5 separate regions of the Homo sapiens genome follow, and regions 1, 2, 3 and 4 are each linked to region 5. The links are contacts of gene promoters, found by promoter capture Hi-C in blood cells and fetal thymus (Javierre and others, 2016). All regions are on one chromosome and are shown on one strand. Each heading gives the region's core, a stretch centred on a gene start or on the middle of the fragment in contact. The rest is flanking DNA. Distances are from core to core; before and after follow the strand shown. Region 1 overlaps TMEM138 (transmembrane protein 138). Region 2 has its middle 19 kb from the start of SDHAF2. Region 3 overlaps CPSF7 (cleavage and polyadenylation specific factor 7). Region 4 overlaps CPSF7 (cleavage and polyadenylation specific factor 7). Region 5 holds the start of CCDC86 (coiled-coil domain containing 86).

Evidence for each region. Contacts are between HindIII fragments. The CHiCAGO score rates a contact against its expected background, and 5 or more counts as called.
Region 1: a contact is called between a fragment that was not itself captured here and the fragment with the promoter of CCDC86 in region 5, in 3 of 17 cell types (activated CD4 T cells, naive CD4 T cells and naive CD8 T cells). The highest score is 7.6, in activated CD4 T cells.
Region 2: a fragment that was not itself captured here is called in contact with the fragment with the promoter of CCDC86 in region 5 in 1 of 17 cell types (non-activated CD4 T cells); the score reaches 5.1 in non-activated CD4 T cells.
Region 3: a contact is called between a fragment that was not itself captured here and the fragment with the promoter of CCDC86 in region 5, in 6 of 17 cell types (total CD4 T cells, total CD8 T cells, activated CD4 T cells and 3 more). The highest score is 8.7, in total CD4 T cells.
Region 4: a contact is called between a fragment that was not itself captured here and the fragment with the promoter of CCDC86 in region 5, in 3 of 17 cell types (total CD8 T cells, naive CD4 T cells and non-activated CD4 T cells). The highest score is 5.9, in total CD8 T cells.

The regions. Positions count from the first base shown.
Region 1 is chr11:61,365,064-61,367,563 of GRCh38, reverse strand. TMEM138 (transmembrane protein 138) reads right to left here. Exons shown (of 5, transcript NM_016464.5): 3 at 1,348-1,519. Among named protein-coding and RNA genes, the nearest start is that of TMEM138, 3.9 kb to the right of the region's middle. The HindIII fragment of the contact is 5,415 bases long and covers 1-2,500 here.
Region 2 is chr11:61,447,620-61,450,502 of GRCh38, reverse strand. No RefSeq gene overlaps it. Among named protein-coding and RNA genes, the nearest start is that of SDHAF2, 19 kb to the right of the region's middle. The HindIII fragment of the contact is 2,574 bases long and covers 314-2,883 here.
Region 3 is chr11:61,424,116-61,426,815 of GRCh38, reverse strand. All of the region lies in intron 2 of CPSF7 (cleavage and polyadenylation specific factor 7), which reads left to right. Among named protein-coding and RNA genes, the nearest start is that of CPSF7, 4.5 kb to the left of the region's middle. The HindIII fragment of the contact is 2,618 bases long and covers 94-2,700 here.
Region 4 is chr11:61,405,335-61,408,034 of GRCh38, reverse strand. The region is part of intron 9 of CPSF7 (cleavage and polyadenylation specific factor 7); the gene reads left to right. Among named protein-coding and RNA genes, the nearest start is that of TMEM216, 14 kb to the right of the region's middle. The HindIII fragment of the contact is 9,423 bases long and covers 1-2,700 here.
Region 5 is chr11:60,840,809-60,843,508 of GRCh38, reverse strand. CCDC86 (coiled-coil domain containing 86) reads right to left here and starts at 1,396. Exons shown (of 4, transcript NM_024098.4): 1 at 627-1,396. The coding sequence starts at 1,384. CCDC86-AS1 (CCDC86 antisense RNA 1) reads left to right here. Exons shown (of 2, transcript NR_182293.1): 2 at 1,529-1,703. RefSeq lists enhancers at 971-1,200, 1,107-2,306. The HindIII fragment of the contact is 9,112 bases long and covers 1-2,700 here.

The sequences.
Region 1 (2,500 bases), core at 1-2,500, 520 kb before region 5:
TAATGAGATTAACGGCTTTTATAGTACAAAGCCAGGACCTATTTTGGCTCCAGGAACCAGGGCACAGAATCCTCTTCAGGAAGCACCCGGAGACTCTGGTGTTGCTTTGCTTCTTTCCTGGGACCTCTACTTCTTTCTGTGGAATCACAAGCACAACCTAACAGGGGGTTCAGGTGTGAAAGTGGCTTTAATAATGAAGTGACAACTAGAGAACCCTGAGGTTTTAGAGTTCAATTGAATTGAGTACATGAGAAATATACAAGATACTCAAAGAGCTGGAAGAATTTGTGAAGCAGAAGAAATCTGAAACCACAGACACTGGATCTGATCTGAGGCCTATGTTAGAACCAAAGGGAGGGATCCTGGAGGCCGGTTCTCCTAGTTAAAGTGATGGGAGCTTGGCAGACGGCATGGAGCACTCAAGGGCAAGCAGCAATCCTGCTTGGCTACTTCCAAAAACATCCACTGCCTACAGCATTAGCCATGGGGCACTGATGCCTAAGAATAACCTGTATCAACATCCACCTGCCCAAATAGCTAATGATGAGACACATTCAACTACCTGTTTTAGCCCTGGTAGGCCTGTTTGGGGCAAAGGTGAATTGAATGTTCTGGAAGAGTCCCCTGACTCTTGGACAAGGCTGTTTTTCAACACATAAGGTTGGTCAAGAGTACCTTATGAAACTCTCACATGCCCAGGGCTCCAACCCAAACCACTTTCATTTCACCTGTTCTCTACGAAGGATTGTGTGAGATGTCAAAGAATGAAGCTGGGTTCCCAGAGAAAAGATATCCCAGTGGCCGGGCGCAGTAGCTCACGCCTGTAATCCTAGCACTTCAGAGGCCGAGGCAGGAGGATCACGAGGTCAAGAGATTGAGACCATCCCGGCCAACATGGTGAAACCCAGTCTCTACTAAAAACACAAAAATTAGCTGGGCGTGGTGGTGCGTGCCTGTAATCCCAGGTACTCAGGAGACTGAGGGAGGAGAATTGCTTGAACCCAGGAAGCGGAGGTTGCAGTGAGCTGAGATCACGCCACTGCACTCCAGCCAGGCGACAGAGCGAGACTCTGTCTCAAAAAAAAAAAAAAAGAAAAGAAAAGAAAAGAAAAGTTATTCCTAGCCCTTTAGCGATTCAGGAATTCAGAGTTCAGGCCGGGCACAGTGACTCATGCCTGTAATTCCAGCACTTTGGGAGGCAGAAGCAGGAGAATTGCTTGAGCTTGGGAGGCAGAAGCAGGAGAATTGCTTGAGCTCAGGAGTTTGAGACCAGCCTTGGTAACAAAGTAAGACCCCACCTCTATTTAAAATAAAAATTAAAAAAAGAATTCAGACTGCCACTCTTACCATGACCCAGACATGAAGGGAGATGCTGAGGGCAAAGTACACAGCTGTCAGGATGATGGTCCCTTTGAACTTATGGAATAGGAGGTTGACCAGGCCAGCCTGGAAGACGAAGGTGTTGAAGAACATGAGGAAAATGATGATGATGTTGAAGAGGACTGCAATATCCTGGATGCTGTAGACATAAAAAAAAGTACAACCAATGAAGGCCTGTGTGAGGACCCAAGAGCAGGTACTATGTCCTGAGGGACACCACGAGGCCTGTCCTTTGTTGTGAGATAGGCATCTGACATCTTAAACCCTCACAGAGATAACATGGGTTTTGGGACCTGAATGACATGAAGCTAAAATTACCTAAAATTACCCACTGGCCCCATCAGTTGGGTTTGCAGTCCATAGTCAAGGCTTTCCTGCTCTAATACTCTTTTTTATTTTTAAAATTTCTTCCATACATAGTCCTATAGAAGATTCTCTGATACTCCTTATTTTTCGAGACAGGGTTTCATTCTGTTGCCCAGACTGGAGTGCAGTGGTATGATCACAGCTCACTGCAGCAACTTCCTGGGCTCAAGTGATCCTCCCGCCTCACCCTCCTGAGTAGCTGTGACCACAGGTGTGTGCCACTATACTCAGCTAATTAAAAAAAAAATTAGCTCATGCCTGTAATCCCAGCACTTTGGGAGGCCGAGGTGGGCAGATCACTTGAGGTCAAGAGTTTGAGACCAGCCTGGCCAACATGGCAAAACCCCGTCTCTACTAAAAATACAAAAAGTAGCTGGGTGTGGTAAATACATAGTGGGGTGTGGTAGCGCACACCTATAATCCCAGCTACTAGGGAGGCTGAGGCAGGAGAATTGCTTGAACCCAGGGGGCGGAGGTTGCAGTGAGCTGAGATTGTGCCACTGTACTCCAGCCTGGCGACACAGCTAGACTCCATCTCAAAAAAAAAAAAATAAAATTATGTTTTAATAGAAACAAGGTCTCACTATGTTGCCCAGGCTATCTGACACTCTTAAACATTTTTTTTTTTTTGAGATGGAGTCTTGTTCTGTCGCCCAGGCTGGAGTGCAGTGGCATGATCATGGCTCACTGCAACCTCTGCCTCCCAGGTTCAAGTGATTCTCCTGCCTCAGCCTCCCAAGAAGCTGGGATTACA
Region 2 (2,883 bases), core at 351-2,850, 610 kb before region 5:
AAACCCTAGCCCAACCGCTTCCTATCTGTGACTTTGAGCTAGCAACTTTATCTCACCGAGCCTCACTTTCCTCATCTCTAAGACGGGAATAATCATTGCACCTATCTCACGGTATTGTGGGATGAAATGACGTAAAGCACTCAGCAGCACTGGGTACACAACAAGCCGAACTATTAGATGTTACTACCAAGTATTACTGAGGGTACAGGGGCTGTACTAAGCTCTCCAGGGGCAGGACTTTATTCAGTCCTTATACCCACACTGTGAGGTCGGGTTCCTTTTCTTTCCTTTCCACAGATGAGAAACAGAAGCTTGGAGAGGTTAAATAATGTGTTTCAGGTCACCCAGCTAATCAATGGGAGCTCCAGGATTCTAGGTTAGGCCTGATTCCTAAACAGCTCCCCTTAACTACTCTGTTCTATTTCCCCTAAACACGTGTTCCAGGGCATCACCAGAGGAGAATATTTTATTAAATATTAGCCAAATCACCTGAATCCACTGAGAAACAGAATGTACATCTTAACGTTCTCACTTGCTGAAAGTTCCATGCTGTGATGTGTTGTTACAGAAAATGATATATCCACCCTCCCCCACTTTTTTCCTTTTATACTCTAATCTCATGACAGATTATACAATCCCCTTCTTAAAGAAACATTCTCCTTTTTGAAAGGAATATTTGGCACTTTGGGAGGCTGAGGCAGGCGGATCACATGAGGCCTGTAGTTCGAGACCAGTCTGTCCAACATGGTGAAACTCCGTCTCTACTAAAAACACAAAAATTGGCCAGGCATGGTAGCGTGCACCTGTAATCCCAGCTACTAGGGTGGCTGAGGCATGGAATCGCTTGAACCCAGGCAGAGCTTGCAGTGAGGGGAGATCCTGCCACTGCACTCCAGCCTGGGTGACAGTGAGACCCTGTCTCAAAAAAAAAAAAAAAAAAAGGAGTATCTGGGGTCTGAGATCCGGGATCCAACAAAAGGCTTTTAACTCTTCTTTTGCAGCTATAGGTGATGATAAATCTACCCATCTCCTTTAAAGACTGATGTTGTCCTGGATAGCTTAAACTTTCTACCACCCCTCTAACAAACTGCTAACAACACTTGTTTCTTAAGCCACAAAAAGTACTGCTGGCCTGAAGCCACCTATCCCACCAATGCCATCTTCCCTGACAGGAAAATTCGAACACCACTCCTCATTCCCAGAGGGTTCACTGGGAAACTGAGGTGTCAGGAGTTAGTTTCACTGGGTACTGATCAGTGTCATCAACTTGATAGCTGCGGGATGGTGAGTCCACTGTCCTCAGATACTACAGAACATACTATTAAGTGGGGCTGTCAGCTCAAAAATCTCACAGACCTGCTTGCCATCTACAGCTGTTTAGCTTATCATTAAACCTTCCTCTCTTTGTCTAGCCACAAATAGCTGCAGATGGACTGAAGGATAAATGAGAGACCCCAACTATCCCATCGGAATCTTTTCCCAGTGATGTTTAAAAATATGAACCAGGTCTGTATTGGTGCCACCCTGGCTGGAGCAGAAGACATACCAGATGACCTCCAGATAACACTCAAAGCCAGTAAGAGTGCTTCTACAATGACCCCCAAAAGACACACTCTGTCTAAGGCACAGAAAGCTCCAGCACAAGGTGTTTGGCTTATGGATTTTTAAGACTTAGGATGATTAAAAGGAAACGATGGAAAGAGAACAGCCTTTCCTGACCCAATTTAAGGTGTCACGTGGAGAGCCTGTGCAGGACTCACAAGACCACTTGAGTCGGTCAGGACAGGGCCAGACGCTCATATGCCCCACACAGGCTCTGAATGAGGTCAGTAAGCAGGGATGTGTCAAAGTAAAAGGAATGAGTCTAGCTTCTGTGCATTAGCGATCCTTCGGGGGCTGCTGGCCCTTGCTATATGTTTATTAATTCCTAAAAAAATGCACTGTGGCCGGCCTAGTTTTACTTAATGCCTAATAAAGGGAAAAACTGTTTACATAGCATCCCTGGGCCTGACAACTGAGCAGGTGAACTTAGCAAGATCCTTCACTTTCAAAGATGACACAATCCAGCAGCCTGGGAGGAAAACAATTCCTCTAGAAGCATGCCATTCCCAGGTGAAAGCGGCAGCAATTGAACATTGTGTTAAATAAGACAAAATCAGGATAAGAAGGGATCAAACCCGAGGGGGAGAAAAGTTCCAACTACATCCTTGGCTACTGGGGTTTGTTGCATAACGTGCAAAGGATAAATGGGTAAGTCACCGCCCAATTCATGTGCACTTCGTACAGTCCAGATCTATGTCTATATATAAACTCCCGGCCTGCTTAACATTCTCCCCAGGGTACATAAATGCAGCCCGAGAGAATAGCCAGAGTCTTCAGCAAGCTCCCAGGGAGACGTCTCCTTCCTCGCCTGCCCTGCTTCTGCGAGTCTCACTTCCATTCCTTGCTTAGGGGAGAGTGCTAGATTTTTCCATCAAAGGTCTTGTCACCAGGGTCTGTTTTCTCTCTCGTCTTCACTGGGAGGTAAGACATTCTGTGGTTCTATTAATAGGCTCAGCTTTCTGACCTGCAGATGAGAAACCCTGGATGTAGCTATGGTGACCTCATTGATATGCCAGGCAATTTGTGTTAGGGACAGGTTTTAAGTCTCAGACTGAGGCTATGACTAAATGCTGACATTCATATCTAGAGTACATACTGTGCAAGTTACCATGTAAGAGCTTTGTGTGTTTCATCTCATCAACTAGCTGAGACAGGAAGCATTGTCATCCCCATTTTATAGATGAGGCAACTGAGGCTCAGGTCAATTCATGTATCCAGCAGGTAAGCAGCAGAGCCAGGATTTAAATGTGTAACCAGTGCACTGCGCTGCTTCCTCACAGA
Region 3 (2,700 bases), core at 153-2,652, 580 kb before region 5:
GACCTTGTGATCTGCCCACCTCGGCCTCCCAAAGTGCTGGGATTACAGGCGTGAGCCGCCGTACCCAGCCACCTTTGTTATTAATGAAAAGCTTTTCCCCTTCTAATTTCTTATCTGTGGATTGATAATAGTGCCATTCATTTCACTTTGAGAAATACGCAGAACTCATTGTCCAGTGGTCACTGCTTTGTTAGAGTATAAGTTATTGGCCTCAATAGTTTGTTCTCTGGTCTCCTCAGTTAAAAAGGACTTTTTTATGGGTCTAAGACAGGCTAAAGGTAGTATGTGGACTTTAATAGATACATATATCCAACGGGCAATATTTGACACTAGGCAAGCTGAAGAAAGTGTGAATTTTGAATATCTTATGTTTTGTGGAAGGTGAGGGATGAGTGCTTCCCCCCCACACACATATCAATTAGTTATTTTTGACAAAGTTAGTGTTAGTGTCATCTGGAAGCTACAGAAATTATTTAAAAAACAAAAAAACAAAAAAACTTTGGCTAGAATTGTTAGAAGCTGGCTTAGTCTGAAGGCACCCAGTACAAATTGTGTTTTAGAATGTTTTAAGAATGTTACTGATTTCGCCCCAAGCTGGCCCATGCACAGGAAGCCCTTCATGTGCACTTTGCTCCTCAAGGAAAATTAATATTTTTCCTAGATGGAACCCTATGGTGCTTATTCCCTGATCTCTTAGAGCATTTGCTGCAAAAGCCTGTTTTTGCCAGAGCTACTTTATTCCTGTAACACAGGGAGTCCTGGGATTCACATTGGCTCTCTTGGGCCAGGGAGAACTCTGGAAAGGTGACTGAGATCAGTTGCTCTGCTGGGAGTTTTGGCTTTTCATACTGAGACAGGCTTTGCACAGTGTCCAGTTCTCTTCCTTATGTCCATCAATAAGTATTTATTTATTGAGCTACTTGTGTTTGCTAAGCACTGTGCCAGGACTAGTGAGGTAAAAGGAAAAAAAAGTGGGTCCCTGTACTCAAAACAGATTCCACTCCTGGTGGGTAGGGGTGGTGGACAACGACAATGTACAGTGAAGGACAAGGAGGGTGTGAAGTGGGAACTGTGGAAATGGTCATTATAAAGCCAAAATTTTTGATTAAGCCTTGGTTACAATTAAAAGAAACAATGGTATCAAGTTGGTTGCTCTGAGAAAAATAAATCCTAGGCTAGTTACTTCCCTCAGTGGGATATGAGGAAGAAGAGGGTGGAGGTTAGGAACACTGAGCAGACAAGTGGAGAAGATCTTATTTAAATTGAAAATCACACATGTTCTCTTTTGTTTACAGGGAAGCAGGAAGTTTCATGAGACAGTCACAGTTCTTTCTGTGCCATTAAACACAAAATTCTTTGAGATAGTTATTCAGTATTAAATATATGTTTCATGTTTAATCTCCCTGGAATGAAACTTTGAACATCAGTGCATGTAAAATGTACTTTTCACTTAATTTGTAGAATTTGATTTTACTTTAATCTATTACTGCATAAATCCGCTGAGAAAAATCTCCGGCCCTTAACTGTGTTTCTGTCTTACTAGCTGAACAAGTAAAATGAATTGTGATGCTGGGGGATTAAAATCCAAACAATTTGATACCTTGTTTCTTCAGTAGAACCCTCAACAGACCTGCCCTGTGCAGTTCCCACCAGCTTCTTTGAACTGAGGCTCTGTGGCCCAGAGAGACCATTTAAATCTTGTGATAATTTTGTATTCATTCAATCCTTTTGTTTCTAAAAGTGGTAGCCATACCAAGATTCTCCAGGATCTAGTCTATCCTATTCTTAAGGGATCTTAAAACAGTGGATTGGTTGCCTAAGCATATAGTACGAAGGGTTTCCTGGTGATGCATTTGGTCTCTGAGCTGTCCAAATCTGCATGTTAGTCCACTACTCAATTTTCAGTGATCATTTTTACATTACAAATTTTAGACACATATACCTGAATTACAGATACTGCATGGAAGGGAATCTCAGTTTGGTTCCATTCGATTATCCAAGATGATGTGTTTCCTTATTCTGTTTACGTGTCATTTGAAAATCCTTGATTTAAAAAAAAAGAAGGCTGGGTGCAGTGGCTTACGCCTGTAATCCCAGCACTTTGAGAGGCTGAGGTGGGAGGATCACCTGAGGTCCGGAGTTAGAGACCAGCCTGGCCAACATGGTGAAACCCCATCTCTACTAAAAATACAAAAATTAGCTGGGTGTGGTGGTGCACACCTGTAATTCCAGCTGCTCGGGAGGCTGAGGCAGGAGAATCACTTGAACCCAGGAGGCGGAGGTTGCAGTGAGCCAAGATTGCGCCACTGCACTTCAACCTGGGTGACAAAGTGAGACTCTATCTCAGAAAAAAAGAAGAATCTTGGTGTGAAGTAGTGCTTTCTAAGGATTTGAGCATTGGATGGGATCAAGTGATGTATATAAATCCTTTCTCTACCTTGAACCACAGGAGCAACTCACCATACCTGGTACATGAATAGAAGAGTGATTTGTCTATAGAGTTGGGATAGTTTGAGACGTAACAGCTATGAAATATTTTATAGTGATTACTTACACACAAAATGTTTTCCCACTCATTAGCCCTAGCTGACCTCACCTTACTTTATTATCCACCCTGTCCTCTCCAGTGTTAGCTTCTCTCCTCATTCTTTACATGCTGACCCTTTTTATGCACAATCCTTTTTGATGGATTTGACTACA
Region 4 (2,700 bases), core at 1-2,500, 560 kb before region 5:
TTGATCTAAAGTAATGGTAATTGAAAAGGAAGGTGAGGGGAAAGAATAGTAGTTCTTTTTGGTGTCTTTGGGATGGCGATATCTGGATGAAGAAGGACAAAGAAACTCACCACCTGTGAGCCCCTATAGTTCATGAGCAGTAGCTGGAATGTAAATAGTTGGAAAATTAGCAGTATTTTGCCCAGTGACAACCTACTAAAAACCAAAATACTCCTTTTAGGTTTGGCTACTGCCCTCTGTCTTGTTCTTTGGCCATTAGCTTAAATAGATTTATAGCCAGGAATTGTTTTTATCTTCTCCCAAACAAGTAAGTGGAAAGATGAAAAATTACTAATATTTTTTGTCTCTGTTCTCTGTTGTTAGCCACTCATTTATTCCACAAAATCCTAGAGTGCTTAACATCATTGAAATCTAGGTTAACTCATGTAGAATCAACAGTTAGGCTGTGGGCTCCAGGTACTTCTTTCTAGATTTTGCAACAGGTTGAGTTTGGGGAGATGCCCATGTATCCTCTGGAAAAGCAGACGCTATTGTAGATGGAGACCACAAACAACTTTGGCCTAATTCAGTCTCAGGTGGGCATGAGGGCAGGCATTAGAGTTGGTCTTGGTCCAGTCCTAACTCCCTTTTCTTGTTTGAGTCTGCACAGTTGCTAGTGTTACTTGTGGGTTGAAAAGCACATGTAGGCTACAGTGTATGTCTTTTGGAGCTGACTGGGATAAGAGTGAACAGGAAGGTGATGATTGACCTGTGCAGAGCATGCACTGTCGTCTTTGGGGCTGCATTCAGTTTAGTAGTTAGAACATAAATGCATGTCACCATTCCTGATGGCTTTGCTCCTGACAGCCTTATGACAGGGAAATTACCAGCGAGATCCACTGATCCAGCAGTAGTTTGAGAATTAAACATCTCAACCTGAGTCTTTAGCTGTCACTTTGCATTATTTCTTCCACTTATAAAATGGGGCCAGGCACAGTGGCTCATGCCTGTAACTTCAACACTTTGGGAGGCCGAGAGGGGCAGATCGCTTGAGCTCAGGGACCAGCCTGAGGAACATGGCAAAACACTCGTCTCTACCAGAGATACAAAACTAGCTGGGCATGGTGATGTGCTCCTGTAGTCCCAGCTACTTGGGGGTGCTGAGGCAGGAGGAGTCCCAGCTACTTGGGGGCACTTAGGTGGGAGGATCACTTGAGCCCGGGAGATAGAGGCTGCAGTGAGCCATGTTTGTGCCACTGCACTCCAGCCTGGGCAATAGAGCAAGACCCTGTCTCAAAAAAAATAGTAATAAAAATAAAATAAGATGAGACTATTTCTCCCATTATGAGGATAACTCTCTTTTGGTAACTTTGAAAATGCTGTAACAATATTGCCTAGAAAACAGTCATTTGACTTGTGTAGGCCCATGACAAGATGGGAAAAATTAACTCTGAGGCAGGTTTTCTACTTCCTCACTTTTCCTGGTCACCCGTTTGATATAGTGGTTATTGCATCTGAATAATAGTCTGAAAGAACTGAATCAGGCACCCCAAGAATGTCAATTTCTTACATTCTCACCCTAAGGACTCTTAATTCCATCTGTAGTGACCAAGTTATGGCTTAGGAAGTTTCATGTTGGGAAGATGGTACATGGTCCTCATTTATAGCAACCTTTTAGTTAGAAATGAATCATATTTATATTCTATGATGACAGCTGTTCCCTGAGAGTGAAAGGTACATTTTGTCCAGAGGCAGCAATAGAACAGTAGCCTTCTTTGTCCATCTTTTCTCGGCGTAAGACCCAGTTCTGGGGCCTGAAGGCTAATTGGCCCACTTGAAGGAATCTCTGATTTCTGCCTGCATTCCAACATTGGCACCAAAATGTAGCCATGGAGATTTAAGAATTCAGTGCTATGGCTTGCTTCTCTTGGTGTACAAGTTATCCTCTGCAACCTGTGTCTTCAACTTTTTGTAGTTCTCAACTATGTCAGTTATCTCATTATTTTAGGACATTATCCTACTTGAAATATAGTCATTCTCACGTCATTCCTGTCCTCGTTATCCATTGAAAACTGAGCTTTCTCTTCAATTTGGATCGAATTCAAAGATTCAGAAGCCCTAATGGTATGTAATTGAGTGCACTGAGGGCTTCAGTTTTCCCTTAGAGAAAATGGGACAAATACCAGCCTGCGTAGGTGTTTAGACAGGCCAGGAAGGCTTAGGCCATATAGATTCTGAGGACCCAAGCTGAAAATAGTGTCATTTCGGTGTGTACAAGGATCAGGGAGGACGTAGATGTCTCCTCTAGGTTTTATAAGGCCACTTTACAGAAGTAGTTATATAAAAGGTAAACATTTGTGCGTAGGCTGTGTTGCCAGTTTGGGCATTAGGAGAAATTCTAATTCCTCATTTTCCCTTTGGCTATTAATTCTGTTTAATATGCTCAGACTGACCATACCACCACCCGCAGATGGGTATTGCAGCATTGGAACAGGTGCTGAGTATAGTAGGAACTTTGTTTGGTGGCCATGTGACAGGTGGCTTAATAGACCCTTTTGGGTAAAACTTCTTAACTGCATTTAGGTTTCTTCCATGCTCTGCTTTCTGTTCTGGCCTGGCCACGTGACTCCTGCTTAGTGTTAGTATGTTTCCTGGTTCCTCACCTATGGCTGTCATGCGAGGAAAGACTTAAAATCTCGAGTTTTAGTACACTTGGAAAAC
Region 5 (2,700 bases), core at 147-2,646:
CGGAATCAGATCTGTGCTCAGGTCCTGTGCCTACCACTCATTTAGCCTTGGTTTCCTCACACAAAAAACAGGAATAATAACACCGCCTGCTTCACAGGGCTGACGTGCAGATTAAGCGTGATGACACATGCTGTTCCATGTTTGAAAGGCTGTTGACTGGTAAATCCTTATTAAGGCTGTTGACTGGTAAATCCTTATATAATCAGTGCTCAGTAATACTTTTTATCTTAAAGGCAAATAACTGTAATAGACTATATTGGATGAAGACCTCACTGCTTTGATCAAGTAATGGCTGGTTTACTTGCTTCTGCTTCTCTCACTAGAGAGGGCAGACAACGGTAAATGTCTGTTGAACGAATACAGACCTGAGGTGCTACAGGAGAGGCCCATAGGGACCCTGAGGAGGAAAGGCATCAGAGAAATTGATCTTTGAGGGCCTGGCCCCACCCTCTCCGGGATCCCAGGGCATTTTACCACATTCTGATTGTAATTACCTGTTTGCTAACATCCCCACTAACGTGAGCTCTCTCTAACCCTGGGGCTATTCTCCAGGCTGCAGCAGGGCAAAGGCGGGGTCCCAACACCATAGAGAACGCCACCCCTGTCCATGCTGTCCCCCACTTCACCTTTTCTTGGAGCGGTCCTTCCACACTCGCCCCGATTTGGGCTTCCCCTTCGGGATTACAGGAAGCTCCTCTTTATTCAACTTCTTGGACGCTGGGGCCTGGGATGAAGAACCTTTTCGCTTCTTTGCCCCGAAGCCGCCTGTCACCGTCTCCCCAGCTGGAGGTGGCTTGCTCGGCTCATGCTGACCCCGGGGGGAGCCAGGTGCCCTGGGTGTCAGCTCCAGTAGTGGCTGAGAGGGCTCCGGACCGGGAGCTTGCTGACCGGGGTAAGGCTCTGGTGATCCTGGGACCGGCGGTAGCTGATGCTGGGGGGCCCCCGGGGTCAGCTCCTCCTTATTCTGGGCCAACTCCGAGGCCAGTACTCCCTGGTCCTGAGAACACTTTGGTGCCTCCTCACTTGGCTTCGGCTGACATCGTGGGGATTCAGGACTGTACTCTGGCTGTCTTTGAGGCGACTCCAGGTGTAGGTCTTGCTGACGCTGGGGGGACGCTGCGCCTGGCTCTGGCTGCCCTTGGGGTGACTCCAAGCCTGCACCCTGCTGCAGACGGGGTGATCCTGGGCTTGTCTTCGGCGGCCTTTCGGGGGACCCCAGGCCAGCCCGCTGCACACTCGGAGGAGACCCGGGCTCCCTCGTTTCTTCTGGGTTCGACTCGAACTCCACAAGGGCCCGTCTCGTCCGCGAAACTGAGGTGAGGCTCTCGGGGGATTCGGGCCTTAGGCCTCCCAGCCGTCGGCTGCGCCTTAACGGTGTATCCATGGCTCAGCCGGTAAGTTTCCACACCCCTGCGCACGTGCAGCCCCCGCCGAAACCGGCGCCTTCCTATGACGTCAGGAGTCGCCGCGTCCGTGACGCACAGGAGGGGGGCTGTTGCTGAGGCGGCCATGTTGGTGAGGGGTGGAGAGGCGGGACCGGGGTTGGGGAGAGTGGGGCTCAGCATGCGCATGCGCAATTCGCGCGAGCGCAGTCAACATGTGATTGATGAGCCAGTCTTTTTCCTGGGATTCGCTTTTGCCTTTCTTGCAAAGTTTCCTGGGGAAAGAAGAGCGAGCAAGTAGAAAAGGGAAAGTGGGAGGACCCATTTCAGGGAGAGAACAGAGTCGAAAAAAGGTCCGAGGAGCCCATAGGCAAGGCCCAGTGGATGTTTTGCAGCCAACTCCGGTGCAGTTGGGCAGAGTCCTGCCCTCCTTGGGCCTGTTTTCTCATTTGTAATAGGGGTCATTTTGCACTAGCTTCGTGCATCCCAAATGATCCTGTCAGAGTCCTCCTCCCACCTACCTGAGGGACTGCTACCTGGGGGTCCTGGAGGTGGAAGATCGGTCTTTTCTGTGTTAATTGTTCACACTCTTGATTCTTCCGTCCTGTGCTTCCGTATATAATCCATAGCTCTCCCTCCCTTTTCAGCGTTTTCAACGTTTGTGAGGGAAGTTGAGGTACCAATAAGATGCACCACCTTTGTCCTGTGGCTCACCTGGGCCCTCGACCAGCTGCATATCCTCCCACGTCCCTCTTCTTCTACCCCAGTTCTAGAAACGGGTTGGATCATCTCCGATCTTCCTTTCAGCCCAGACAGTGGTTTTTGCTCGTGTGTGAACCTGCTTCGCCTCCCCTCCCTTCCCTTGCTATTCACCTGTAAATGTACTTTGCTTACTAAGCACTTTGGGACCTCACCAGTGAGCAGGTGTTGACTTCTGGACCTCCCAAGGCCTAGAGAAGACTCTCGGGATGTGGGGTTGGGGAATGTGGGGCTGTGGAGACTTTCGTGTGAGACCTAGGAGTGGGGCTTTGATTTACTTACAGCATGCTTCTTAGGAAGAACATCTTGGAAGTGGCCCAGTTGTGTAATTCTTGGAACTGCCTGGGGTTGGCCATTAAAGGTCCCAGGGCCCCGTCTGACATTCCAGTGGTTTCTTTTAGAAACCATTGTTTCTCCAGCTGCGGGCTTGTGAGAGGGCCTGGGAAATTGTCCAAGAATATCAGGGATCAGAGTGTCCTCATCTTCCTCATGTTCCTGAGTCAAGGAGACCCCTGCAGGGGGGCTTTGCCTGCCTCACTGCTCCTCTCCGGCCATGCAG